Linked DNA regions of Homo sapiens: all the other regions are linked to region 1. Evidence: promoter capture Hi-C in human tissues and cell types (Jung and others, 2019). All regions are on one chromosome and are shown on one strand. Each heading gives the region's core, a stretch centred on a gene start or on the middle of the fragment in contact. The rest is flanking DNA. Distances are from core to core; before and after follow the strand shown.

Evidence for each region. Contacts are between HindIII fragments. The study calls those that stand out against the background at their distance.
Region 2: a fragment that was not itself captured here is called in contact with the fragment with the promoter of GRIK2 in region 1 in 1 of the 25 tissues and cell types used here (dorsolateral prefrontal cortex).
Region 3: a contact is called between a fragment that was not itself captured here and the fragment with the promoter of GRIK2 in region 1, in 1 of the 25 tissues and cell types used here (H1 embryonic stem cells).

The regions. Positions count from the first base shown.
Region 1 is chr6:101,391,677-101,396,545 of GRCh38, forward strand. It overlaps GRIK2 (glutamate ionotropic receptor kainate type subunit 2), which reads left to right and starts at 2,032. Exons shown (of 17, transcript NM_021956.5): 1 at 2,032-2,161. The HindIII fragment of the contact is 9,322 bases long and covers 1,688-4,869 here.
Region 2 is chr6:102,025,810-102,030,678 of GRCh38, forward strand. All of the region lies in intron 14 of GRIK2 (glutamate ionotropic receptor kainate type subunit 2), which reads left to right. Among named protein-coding and RNA genes, the nearest start is that of GRIK2, 630 kb to the left of the region's middle. The HindIII fragment of the contact is 7,258 bases long and covers 1-4,869 here.
Region 3 is chr6:102,003,551-102,008,419 of GRCh38, forward strand. All of the region lies in intron 14 of GRIK2 (glutamate ionotropic receptor kainate type subunit 2), which reads left to right. Among named protein-coding and RNA genes, the nearest start is that of GRIK2, 610 kb to the left of the region's middle. The HindIII fragment of the contact is 3,691 bases long and covers 654-4,344 here.

The DNA.
Region 1 (4,869 bases), core at 782-3,281:
AGAGTCTTTAGCCAGTAGACAAGTTATCTTCCTTACTCCCATGGAGGAATGGGACAGAATGGGGCATTTTTTCGGAGCCTGGCCCAAACTCGGCTGTGCCTCGAGGGCCCATTAGGCTGCAGGTCACAGCAGCTGGAGCCCAGGCGCCCAGAACCGGTCACGCGTCTGTGCTGCCCGCTCCAGGATGCACAATAGAGTCATTGACTATTTATTTACTGGGTAGAACAAGGCTGCTGTTGACTTAATTAAGGGAGCCGCCCAGCCACCCCTGGGATCTTCAAATGACTAATGGACTCTCCATTGCCACTAACTCATCTCTCCTTAACATAAGTCCCCAGTCCCCCTCCCCCCAACCCTGCCCCACCCAGGAATGCTCAGTAAGCATGTTGTGGGGAACGGGGCGCAGAGAGTCCTGGATGGTGACCAAGAGGGAAAGACTGGCGGTTTTGGCAGGACTGAATTTCTGTGTTTCAGAGCTATTCTGAGCCAGGCGCTAGCCTCAGGGTGTGGAACATGGCCCTGCTGCGCCAGGGTCCGGCGAGGGCTTAACTTTACTAGGGCTGCAGTGAAGGAGGAAGCAAAAGGGCAAGTTCTGGTCTCCAGCTCAGACAACGGGTCCCTGGGGACTCAGAGCCTCTCTAATTCCCGGACCTCGGAATTAGATAGATAGTGGAGAACCACCAGGGACTGGAACTGCTAGGGGACTGCAGAGCCGTGGAATCCCCCCTGGCCCCTTCTTTATGCAGCCCGTTTGAAATGGTCTCTTGAGCCCAGTGCGCCTGGCCTGTTCCCGCTTAGCCTCACTTAAATCTCCTCGCGAATCTGAGCTGGCCAACTTCCTCTGGGGGAAACTGCTAAACTCAGCTCCAGTTAATATTGTAGGGCTGAGGATAAAATAGCAACGGTTTTGAATAGATGTTGACTTTTCCGACCCAGAGGAGCGGAACTCAGGGATTGTTTGCAAAAGCTAATCGTTTCCACAGTGAAGCAGGGAGAGCCTGGTGCGCTCACCGCCGCCAGCCCCTCCCTGGAAGCCAAGCTGCGGGAAGACTCTGGGACTCAGTTGCCCCTCCCCATCTCTGGCCTTTAAAAGAGTCCTCCCGAGAACTTGGACCAGTGGCCGCCAAACCAGGGCTGCTTCCCAGACTCCTGTCTCCAATCTTGGAGTCTGCGACCTCAGGTTCGGCGCCCACTAGATCTCGAATCCAACTTCTTTCTGAAATGTGTTTAGGTTGAGAGTTCCGGGGCCTGGGCGGGAGTTTGGTGGGGAGAGGGGAGTCTGCTATTTAAGGCGCCATACATACACAGAGACAGCCCGCCCGACCTCCTAACACTCAGGAAAAGTCAATTTCCAAGCATCTGTTCTCAATAATGGTGGCAGGGAGCAGGGCACTGTGACTCCCAGCATCTGAGGGAATACCCGCAGCAGCGCTACCAGAGCGCATTTGCTCTATGCGCTGGAGGTCGGGGTGGGAGGGTGCGCAGATCAAGATCTTTTTTTGCGAACCTCAGGGAAATGACCGTAGTTGGACTAAGAGGTCCACTTTGGAGACTACCAGCAGCCCTCCAAGCCCTGGCAGTGGAGAAGTTTCGTTGCTATGGTTTCGGAGAGGCATAAAAGCCATCACCCAGAAGCAAATGTGTTTGGGCTCCTTATATGTGTTGTCACCACCCAAGGCTAGGCAAATTCCTCGGCGCTTTGCATGCATCACTCACTCCCTGACAGAGCATCTTGGCCTTAGTCTCCCCATCCCAGGAGGCGGGTGTGCGCTAAGGGAGCGAAGTCCAGCCGGAGGCTTCGTAACATCCAAGTCTAGGGACACCAGGAATTCTCTCGCTCTAGCTCCTGTGGTCCAGGGGTGGGAGATGCCCCCGAGTGGCCGCGGCGGCCAGGAGCGTGCAGGGGCCACGGGGAAAGGAGCGCGGCGCCTTTAAAGCAAGAGGCGAGGAACCCCCGCCAGGAGGCGTGTCTGTCTCTGCCGCCGCCGCCGCCGCTGCTGCTCCTCGGTCACCGTCTTCGCCGCTGCCGTCACTCGCGCTCGGCGCCGGCGGCTGCGCTGGTCGGTCTGGTAGCTGGGGACTTTTCCGCCCGACCTCCTCCGGCTGCTCCTCCCCGAGGACCACCCCACCCCCTCCCCGCCCACCTCACCCCTAGCTCCAGGTAAGGACTCCCCGGCTGTGGGCTGCACTCCGGGCTCCTTCACGAGGTGTTTGTTTTCAAGAGGACGGGAGGGACTGCGGGTGGGCGAGGGGCATTTTCCACCTGGAGAGAAGGAAGAAGGCGAACAGTAGCGCTGCGGACGTCCGTGCGCTCGGGGCGCCCGCTGGACGGATTCACTGCGAGTCTTTGTCGGGCTTATCTCAGCCAATTCCCGTCAAGCATGCAAGTGGCTCTGTTGGCTGCAGTCGCCTATGTTCTCCACATAAAATGATTTAAGAAGTGGACGTGTCAGGAAGTGGCCTCAGCTACGGGGACTCACGCGAGGCGAAGAGAATGAGACAGATGGCAAGAAGCTGTGTGGCTGCCGGCGGGTCTGACGAACTCCCCATCCCTCCTTCTGCCCACCCATCCTTCCATTAACCCTACTCCTTAGTTCTGCGCTGAGGAAGTATATTTATTTTAACCGGCACCCGTATTAAGAGCTTCTGAAAAAACTTGGAGGGCGTCCCATTAGGGTAAGGAGTGGGCAGTGTTACCAGGGTGGATCATAAACCTCAAGAACTTTTAACGAACCACATCCTCTGATATTTTTACCTTTAAGGAGATAGAGTTTCTTTACCAAACAACACGACCGAGCTGAGGCTCCTTAGAGAATAATTTCCAATTTAGGCAATGGGGAATATTAGAAAACTTACTATTAGTAGCCTTTTGGTAATGCACAGATTATCTTCTATCGTTTATTCATCTCCATACTGTAAGTATTCTGTCATCAGAAATTATCTTATGGATTGATGATTATTTTCATTTCACGAGAGATGATTGGTTCATTTGAGTCTTAATTAGTCAGTTTAGTTACTGAAATAAATGCAATTGTATTTCAATCTTGATTTGTCTTAGTTCATTACTTTCTAACTTTATAGAGTCTATTCCTGTAACCACCAAGGCAGCCTATCAACTTCCAGTGGCCTTAAAAACTTTTGAGTCAAACAAACAACAAAAAATTGAAATGCACAAGAGCAAGGTGATAGAGAATTGAGCAATGTTTGGAAGTCTTATCTGTTTGTTTTCTCCTATTTAAACCCATTGAAAATCACACAGGCTGAAATTTAAAAAAAAAAGTTCTGGGATATGTAAATTTATTCCACTTCAATTTGTTAATTAAGATACACTTATTTTAGTGTCTAAAAATTAATCAAAACTCTAAATGTCATTAATCATCAATGCAGCAGAATGTTGCTGGAACAGCTGATAATGTGTTCAGAATCATAAGGGATACCACAGCATGCATAGTTAAGAAGAGTGAGTTGCAAGTATGCAACAGTGTGATTTCAACTGAAACCTGACTCAGTCCTGACTTTATTCTCTGAGATCTTTAATGCCATGTATAAACAGGCTGTTTGTTTTAGCTAAATTGCTATGCAACAGGCCACTTGCATGGAATAATAGGTTAGGTGTTACTATAAGATGAGGTTTTTCAAATGTCACATAACAGCAGGACTTCCGTGACAAGTCAAGTGGAATCCTTAGTAAGAATTCCATGTGAAAAATTTAAATATAGCTATGGCATGTAAGAACCTTTGAAACATCTTTGAAATTCAGGTTGTTCTGGGGTATGTATTTGCTGTTTCCAGCAAAAGGTATAGGCATTGTCTTTTTAAATGTTGTGCTATAAAGATTATTACACATTTTCTCATACCCCAGCAGGTGGCAGCTAACTAGAATAAGATTCATTTTCACTGGCAGAATAGGAAACTAAAATTGTTTCTCAAGTAATAGTGCCCAAGAATAAGAGGTCATTAGTATCTGCAAATATAAAAATATAGTGAAAGATGAAGCTAGTGGGTTTTTTTGTTATTGTTGGAAGAAGCTTTGCATTAACATGATATGCATTTTCTTCTTTGTCAATTTATCATAGGTTTGATATTTGTGTCAGCCTTCTATGATTTTTTTGAGGTATACTTCTAAATACAGCTTCTCTCTGGGTGTGCGTGTATGTGTGTTTTTGCAGTTTGTTATCTCTGCTTTGACCTTGGAATCTACAGAGCTTTGGCTCATAGAAATAAAGAGTGCCATATGGTTAAAATGAGGAAAAAAATGAGACCATAGAATAAAATATATAAATCTTACTAAGTATATATAATTGCCTGATATCCAATAGCAGTAGTTTTCTCTTTCCTTTAAGGAAGAAGCAAATTACAGAACTGACACAATTTTTAAAAGGGTTAAATCTAGTCAGTGAAATACTGTGTAAGGAATTTATTAATCCTTCATATAACCTCAGAACTATGATGTGTGGTATCAGTATTGGGGAGAAACTTGTAATAACTTCAAAATTGCCACATGTTAAGGCATCAACTATGCCACCAAATCATTTTATTGTAGTATAGGGATGTAAATTTAGCATTCCCCCCCCCCCCAGGAAGTGAGTGAGTTTAATGTGAAAGAACAAGAATTAATCTCATTACCCTAGTAACAGATGGAAATCTGGAGGTGGAGAATTGAAAGTGATAACTAATTGTACATTTAAAAAATGTCTTTAGCCACTGAATATTGACAGCATGTTATTTGGCATTCTGAATTGTGGTCTTTCTAGCAATTTTTTTTTGTACTGACAATCAAGTAGTTTAGTGTTCATGAGGAATCTCACAATTAATATAAGTAGTTTTTTTAACAGTATGCCCTATTACAAAAAAAGATAACTACATCTT
Region 2 (4,869 bases), core at 1,270-3,769, 630 kb after region 1:
CTGGTGGTCAATATATATTAGAATGATAGATCAAATGATTGAATGAATAATCTAGTGAATTATTAAATAGAATAAGTTGAGTTTTAAACTAAAACTTTTGTGCCTCTAAGTCTCCTCACCTGAAAAGGCCTGGCGTTAAGGGCCATGTTGGTTAAAGCTCCTACCTCAGCAAAAGCTCAGGGTGCTTTTTCTATTCTTGCTTACTAGGGTGATTAAATAACAATAGAGGGGAAAACAAGTTTCCTTATCCTTAAAAAATTAAGAATTATTTTAATGGTAAAGGCATATACATATACACTTACATATATATATATATATATATATATATATATATATATATATATATGAAGACAGTAGGTATATGCTACAGTCATCTCATGTACAAGTACTGTGTTTCTCTTTTGATTGATTATGTAAAACAAGCAACGAGAATAAATTCTGATTATCTTTACAGAGCTTTATGGACTGTCAAAATGGCTTTAGATGAGTTTTCTCATTTATTTATCACAATACTTCCACGATATTGTTAAAGAAGCTTTTTATTACATTAGGTAGGGAAAAGAAATTATGGCTTATCCAAGGTCCTTCATTGACCCAGTGTGGTAAAGTTTCTTAATTGTATTTCAGTTTGTCCACATGACAGTAAAATATATTCTTGATGGCTATTATTTATAAGAAAAGAAAATATTTGATCAGGAAAGTTGAAGACATCTCATTTAAAAGATAATATGCAATGAACCTTCATTATGAGATACTTGGAATGGTACACAATGAACTATCAAATGCTGTTTCAACTACCTAAAAAGGATAACTGTCTTTAACTGCACCAAATGATACTAAACTTGCTGCCTATCCTATTATGCTTAGTCACTCTGATTTCTTTTATTCCTCTATTAACTCACACTAACACTGAGAAGAGCAATTCTCTCTGTTTCATTGTCCTTCCCTTCAAATATCCTGTTTTAAGAGATTACAGATGCCTTGAGATAACACTGCCAGAATTATCCCAAGGCTGACAGGTTTACTAACAACTGAATGCTTTTCAGATCACTGCACTGGACTCAGATCCACCTTTGATATGAACCACATATGGCTTCAGTCTTGTTTCCCTGAATTAACTCTAATTTCCTAGTGACCAAGGTCAGATGAGTCCAGATAGGGCTCAGCTGTTCTTACCTAGCACATATGTTCCAGTATTGTTGGTAATTTATTTCTGTAATAAAAAATTAAAATGGAAATCTCAGCCAGAATCTCTTTTACCAAGGGAGACCTTGCTATGAGCATTAGGGCTTATTACATGTAACTTTTTCATAACAAAATAAGAATTATTATTATAGCACTATAGCCAAATATTTAAGTTAGCATTATAAACAAAATTGGTCATGTAAAATTTATTGAAAAAGAATAATTTGAGTTAGTACCAAATACCACAAAATTTACATTGTTAATTTTAAAAAGTCAGAAATTAGTTTGCTTTTAGCAATTTTACTGTATTAATCTATACACCAATGTTAAACTAATTCTGCCAGATTATTTAGGAGGTAAAACTTTTATTTATAAATGTCTGTTTATTAATTCAAGAGAAATAGAATTTGTTAACAATAAAGTCTTTTTCAGATTACTTCAAGATATTTTGGGTGTTGTACCACCTGATTAACTTTTTAAGGTGTCTGAGCTGAAGTCAACATTTCTAATATTATGTATAACAAAACATATTACAATATAGTATTCAATTTTCTTTGCATGGTGGATGTGTTGTTGTTATGACATTTAAAACAAAATTAATGTTAAAGGTTTTAAATTTCATTCATGGAGAAACCTTTCCTGTAGAACATACTTAAAAAGTTAATTCTAAATCCTTGCTTTAGGAGGTTACACAAATATTGATAATGTTATTTTCTTATCACTTTTAGACAGTCAGGTTCATAAAAGCAAGTTCAATGAGCATAAGATGGTTTCTAAATTTTAATTTATTTTTGACAGCAAACAAAATGAACAAAGGTGAGGAATCCATTTGTGTACCTAAGATATCTTTAAAAAGAAGATACCTTTATATTTGTCAAATATGTTGCTCCCAGTAAAAGAAAAGAAGATCTATGCAAGTGGTTCAAGAGTAAACCTTACCTTATTAGCTTTTCATAATATTTTCGAAGAAATTTAAAACAAAATTGCAAAGCACTATTCTTACACTGATATTTTACCAGTTCACTAAAACATTCAGAAAAGAAATTTACCCTAAAATTTGTTAGTCATTTGAGACTTGCAAAGAGCCAAATAATTTCCAGGTTGCAAACTTTATTTAGTGTTCTAGCAGAAACTAAACTAAAATGTCTATAAGTTTTAAATTGTTAGATGTGTGTTTAAAATATTTTAAATATTTACATTGTATGCTCTTTTTAATACACAAAATCATTTGGCAATTGTGAATTTTAAAAGGGGGTGTATTTCTTATTCCTTTAAAGTTTATTTTTGACAAAAATACATTATTTTGTTGATGTTTCACAATCCATGAAAACTGCTATTATAAGCAGATAGTGTCTTCTGAACTGATTTTATTGGTTTGTGCTGATGTAGAAAAAAACAAATCGGCTTACAAGCCTCGGCATTTTTATAAAATAAACATTGCTAAACATTGACATCCCAAATCCATCTAATATAACATAGAAAAATAAGTTTCTTTAAGGAAAGGAGGAATAAAATAGAAATACATTCTAGTATTTTTAGTGGCAGATAGGATAAGTTTAGTGGGAAAATAAGATGATTTACGAAAACTTAAAAATGCATTTTTCTTACAGTGCTTTTTTTAAGATATGCATTTCATGCAATATCTCTGAGACATTATTTAATTGATTCTCTTGGCTTTATCTGGCTAATTACTCTGTATAATATAACTATAAGGATAATAATTAAGAAATCGTTTTTTTTATTTTTGTCAGGTAAGTTATAATCTTTTTATGTTTTATGTAATTAAAATTCTTTTGCAAAATCATGATGCCATGAATTTTATCTATTTTCACTTTTTTTTAAGGCAAGGAGCTTTGGTTCTCTCAACTGTGTAGGAAAGAAAAATATTTTAACTATTTCTTATCTTTTACTTGGCTACCCTCAAGGTGAGCTCTTTATGATCCTCTAATTTGTTGTTACCTCAATTATTTGCTAATAGAAAATTATTTTATGATGTGCTTAGCTTACTACCTGTCTTTTATTTTATATATTTCTCTTAGGTACTACATTCTTTTGGAGAGTATTTCCTAATAAATTTGGCAGCAGCTATGGACAGGGCAAGGATGTGTCTCAATTCCTGAGTCTTTCCTGGTGTTCTGTCTCAGTCTTCACTTTCTCTCATCACAGTGGCCAGAGGACCTTCAAAGACTGTGGACATTTTGGCTGATCAGCTTAGTCCTTATGTTTGATTTTAATCAGGTCCCTTGGCAATGATCAGTATCTACTTCACTGAAAGACACTAGCCATTGTTACAGGTGATGGAGCAAAATGTATTTACAGGTGGCTCCTTCAACATGCCGGTTGTTTTCCACGTATAATCTTTAGTTTATACTGCAACTTTATATTTCCTTTCTTCTATGTCAATTTGCATACAACTTTCATATTCAACATAGAAATATTTGATTAATTTCATTTTTACCTCATCACTGATCCTAAGTGCATTTTTATTCCTTTTCTTTAACTTGTACAGCTCCCATTTATTGATTTTTACGTTTCAAGTTCCTATAATCTATTTAACTTTGAGAATGTTCAACAACTTTTTGCTTTATTAAAAATAAATCTAGCTAAGTCTTCTTATTTTCCCCTTACACAATATATTTTACAGTGGAAGTATGACCCCATGGGTGTTTAATATAAATATTTTCAAACCAGAGGTCAAGCCAATGGCAGTGTTCTAAATCCTCGTTTATTCTACTCAGGACCCACCTTATTAGGAACATTGCCTTATTTTTTTTCAGCTTCACTGAGGTACAGTTGACCTCAATAAAATAATAAAAACTGTATATATTTACAGTGTTGGAGAGTCTTTCCTAATAAATTTGACAGCAGCTATGCACAGAGCCAGGCTGAGTCTCAATTCCTGCGTCTTTCCTGGTATCTTATCTGTATCTACATACATATATATAAAGTTATCATAATCAGTTTAATTAACATATCCATTATCCTGTATTTTTGTGTATGTGGTGAGAATATTTAAGATCTATTCTCTTAGCAACTTTCAAGTATAAATTTGCAGTATAATTATGTGTAGTCACTATGTTAAATGACATAAGCTAGGCACAGAAAAACAAATGCTGCATGATCTCACTTACACATGGAATGTAAAACAAGTTGAACTCATAGAAGCAGGGAGTAGAATAGTAGTTACCAGGGGTTTGAGGGGATGAAATGGGGAGATGTTAGCCAAAGGAACTTTGCATTATTGATTGTTCTTTCTTTTTCTGACATTTTAAACCTCTCCTTTCTTTTGAAACATCCGCCATTGGCATTTAAACATGCTCAAATCTCTTCAATCTTTTAAAATCTTACTTAAACCAAAATATTCTTCTATCTGCTATTCTGGATCTGCTCATCTTCAGGGTTGTACTTTTTATTTTATTTTTTTTTTCTTTTTGGCACTTACTGCTACCAGTTTACTTTCCTCAAATCCTTTCTTAATCCACTTTGATGTGACTTCTAAGAGCTTCACTCCCCTCAATTAGCCCTTGCTAAAATAACCAAGAAACTCTCTGTTGCCATATCCAAAGGAAATTATTCAGTTTTCATTGTTTGTAGTTTTCTAGCAAAATCACTACAAGGGACCACTTCCTCACTCAACTTTCTCTTGCCTTAATTTATGCAGTACTTAGATTTTCTTCCTTCTCT
Region 3 (4,869 bases), core at 1,249-3,748, 610 kb after region 1:
TCATATCCCAAATATATGACATATTGAAATTATTTTTTCTTTCTATAGTATATTGTTTATTAACAAAAGCTGTCCTTGCATGACAAAGGCTGTTTTATTTTGTCATTGCATATATCTGCCAGTTTGCTGGAAAAAATTAGACTACAATATTTTCTGTCAACTATTCAACAATATTATTCCTTTGACTTCTCACATCTAGAGTTGCTGTTGTGAAAACCAATAAGTATCTAATAATTGTTCCTTTTAATTGATATAATTTCCTTTTTAAGAGAATTCAGAACTTTCTGTATAGTGTAACTAGAAGTTAATTTTAAAAATTCTATAGTGCTTAGCAGTCTGAAAACTTTATAAATCTGATTTATAATATAATCATATTGACTAGGTATTAAAGTTTTATTTTTGTTAACTATATTTTCTTTTTTCTCTCTTATTAATTCCATCTATGTTTCTGTAGATTTGTATTCATGTAAGCTTTCTTTAATTTTAAGTGCACATTTATTTCTTTCATTATTTCAACTACCATATTTTATCATCTAGTATCACCAATGTATTTTATATTTGCATTTATATTTGTTCATACTCCGTTTTTGAGTTTTATTTATTTGATTATATTTGTATGCTTATTTTATATTACATTCATATTTTTCATTAATTCTAATTTGCTACTCTTGTTCAGTATGCTGTCCTTTATAGTTCTTTATGTCCCTTATATATCCATTTTTTTTCCTGTAAGTTCATTTTTTTTTTTTTTTTGGAACCATTATCTACCTCAGATCATAATAACAAACTGAGGGGAGGGAGAAAAAGACTAGTTTCTGGTTTATACCTTATAAAGCTTTTAGGATGTTAGAGAGTGAGGTAGGGGATGCCTCAAAGTACAAATCTACTGCTTTTATGATCTGGTCTCATTTGTCCACACACCTCCTTATATTAAAATATAACATGTCCTTTTGAAAATGTTTCTATACCTCCACTTAAGGCCTGCTTAATTCTAAGATTTATGTTTCAAAGTTAAAATTACTAAATCCATACAATGACCATATGATCACAGAGGGTCAGAAGCAATTCAATTCTTGGGAGTGAAAGCATCATATATACCTGTTGCTCATCCTTCATTCCGTCTGCCCTCTAGTGCAACATTGTTTTTGTTCTCACTTCTCGATACAAAGATCAGCTAATGTTATTTCAGCTCCTTAGAATCAGAGTATAATGTGCCTACTATGAAGGAGAGAAATGTATTTATATAGAATAGCTTTTCACATTATATTGTTATAGTTAAACTGCCCCCCCACCACCTTTCTCCAGTGCATTTTTTTTTTCTTTCTTTCTTTCTTTTGTCCACAGCAGGATCTATTCCTTTTGCATTTCCAGGAAATTATTAAGATTTTAATATTAATTTCTGGCATAAAAATATTTTTTAATTTGTGTAGGTGGCAGGAGAACAGTAGCCTATATTTATTAATACTCTTGTCAAGAAATAGCAGCTTCTCATGTACTTCTTTTTACATATTTTGTTACTCCTGAATTTTTAATCTTTTGGTTTATGTTTGTACTGACTAGAATAGAAGGATAATATTTCATATGTGCAGTATATATATTATGTATATTTATATAAGTATATATACACAATTCCCTCTAAGATATGTACATATATATGTGTATAGACATAATACACACATACAATCATATAATCTTATAAATATTCACAATATGAGACTCTGTGAAAGAAGTTCTTTAAAATGCTGATCTTCAAATAAAAGATTAATATATAATCTATAAGTTGTGATCTTTATTTTGGCTATATATTTGGGACTTCTTATTTATAAATTAGCATAATTTTATTGATATTATACAATTTAAGTGAGTAAATGCCAGAGTCCAATCATTGAGCTCGGGATCTATGCCTAAGTGTGATTCTTGGCCAAGAAGAACAATTGATGGTTGACTCAGTCTTATGCATAACCCTGAGGGAATAAATCTCTTTATTGGCCTTCCTATATAAATCTTTCCATTTATATAACCTTTCCATAAAAATAAGCTTTATCTTTGGTATATTAAACACTTATCTTGTTCATTAATTTTTTCATTGAATCATTGTTTGGAATGCTTAAAGCATAACATTTAGTCCAGTAAATTTGCTTTTACGCCAAACCTCAAACGTAATCAGTGAAAATATATTTTATTTCTTATCCAAGTGTATTATATTACTTTGGTATGGCTACTATAACAGAATATTATAGATTGGGTAACTGAAACAATAGATATTAAGTTTCTGTCAGTTTTGGAGGCTGGAAGTTCAAGATCAAGGTGCTGACAGGGTTGGATTCTTCTAAAGCCTCTCTCTTTGGCCACCTTCTCTGTGGATGCATGTGGTCTCTCTTCTGCATGCACACGTGTCCCTAGTGTCTCATGTGTGTCCTGATTTCCTCTTATAAAGATTCAAGCTTAGTTAGATTAAGGTGCACTGCGATGGCCTTATTTTAACTTAATTACCTGTTTAAAGGCATCTATCTCCAAATACAAGCACATTCTCAGGTATTGAGGGTTAGGACGTCAACAAATGAATTTGAGGGGGATACAATTTAGCCCATAGCACCAAGAATTCTGCTCAGTAAATATTTTTCATAACATTAGTGCAGAAAAAAATATAACATTGTGTAATAAAAAATAAATACTTTCAAAAATTATTTAATTCTGTAGAATAGAATCCCAGAGCAATTCAATGAAAATGAAGGAGGCTATCTTTTATTTCTTGGTACAATAGTTAGGAAATGTTAGTAGAAAGGGTATTTGATTTGAGAAAAGATGATAAACCTTTTATATATATATATATATATATATTTTTTTTTTTTTTGAGACATACAGTGGAGTACAGTGGTGTGATGATAGCTCATTGCAGCCTGGATCTCCCAGGCATAAGCAATTCTGTCATCTCAACCTCTTGAGTAGCTGGACTACAGGCATACACCTCCACTCCTGGCTAATTTTTGTATTTTTTATAGAGACAGGGTTTCGCCATGTTGCCCAAGCTGGTTCCAAACAACTGGGCTCAAGTGATTCTCCTGCCTTGGCCTCCCAAAGTGCTGAGATTATAGGTGTGAGTCATTGCGCCTGGTCCAGCATACTGTCATACTGAGATAATGATCCTTATTAAGCCCCTTGACCCCTACAAGCCCTGTCATTTTTTTTCATGGCATGTTTATGGAATAATGTTTTGGGAGATCAAATGAATTATATATTTGCAAGTTCTAATATAATAAAATCGCAAATAATCATATCTTATTGTTTGATATTACTATCATAATTATCATCATGTTCGTGTAACATACATTTGACAAAAAATAAATGCATATTTTCTGGGTAATTTTAAATGGAAATAATTAATATTAATTTTGTTGAAGAACTTTATGAGACCCTTTTCAGTAATTTAGAAATACTCCTAATTCTGTGAAAATTAATGTATATTTTTAAGAACCTATTATGTATAAAAAGCTAGATTGGGTGTTGTGCATGATACAATTGTAAACAAAACGTATTCCAGTTTTTAAGACAATTGTTTCCAGTAACAGTAATATACCAAATTGAATATGGATGGTTCCTTAAAGATAACTCTACATGAAGTGTGGTTGTAGCCCATGAGAGTTTGTAGAAAGTCATGATTGTAACTGTTTTGTGCAGAGTGAGAAGATAAGAAAATACATTTTGAGAAGGTAATTGAAAAGGAGAGAAATGGGAGGAAATGAGACCTATGTAAGAAAATTCATAGTGTGAGTTTGAGTGAGAAGTAATTAGGTCCTGAAATAAAGTAAAATTTGAAAACTGGATAAAGGAAAGATAAATGACATAAATATTTAAATGCAGGGTTTGCAAGCTGTTAGAATATTCTTTTCCTGCCACCTTCACTTTGTGACAGTACTCATTCTACCTTGCATCATCAGCAATAATAGTTGTATTCTTCTTTTGATCCTGTATTTATGGAGGTGGCAATACTACATTTTGTTTTCCTCCCACCAAATAGCATGAGAACAATTACATAAACCATTTGTATTAAGCTTGAAGAATTGAATTGCATTGAAACAATGCAATTGTTGAAACAGATGGAATCAAAAATTTTCATATTAGATGATAGTGGTGGAGGAAAGTAAAAAAGGGTAATGCCATTTATATAAATACAAATTGCAAAAAAGAAAGTTTTCTTAGGAAAGAGGTTTAATTCACTCTGGGCTGGGTCTAGTTTAAGAGGCTGGGATTAAGTAGATGGCAATGTTAAATAAATTATTGGACATTTTATTGTCCCTTAGGGGAATACCTCTATCCTTCCTAAATGTAGGAAAAAATCTCCCTACATTTGAAGTATAAGTAAGGGAAAGGGGTTCCATTAACACATTATTATTCTAGTTTTTAAACTGATGGTCTTACCAAGGTGAAGTTGATAAGAAAAGGCAATGGTAGAATATTAAGAAAATCAAAAGTTAGAAGGCAGGGAAAAGGAAAAACAACAACAACAACAACAAAATTTTAAAGTAGATTAGAAAGGTGGAACCAGAAAAGTAAAGTGTTTTATGCCAAGGAGATGGGCAGATGTCATGAAGTCTAGCTAAAGAATGTGAGGAAACCATTGGTCTGTGACTTTAAAGCTTCAGTGTACAAATAGAAAGGAACAACTTGAAAGGTCAAGATAGAAAAAGACAAGAAAGAGAAAGCATGCTTTTTAGAAAGAGGACTTGGAAGACACAAAACAGCACATGACCAGGCAACAGAACAGAGAGGGTAAAAACAGAATGGAGTAGTTTTGAGAATTTACAAGATAGGCATAAGCTGTTTGATGGAACCAATTTTAATGGCTTCAGCAAAGTTGAAAGCAATGTC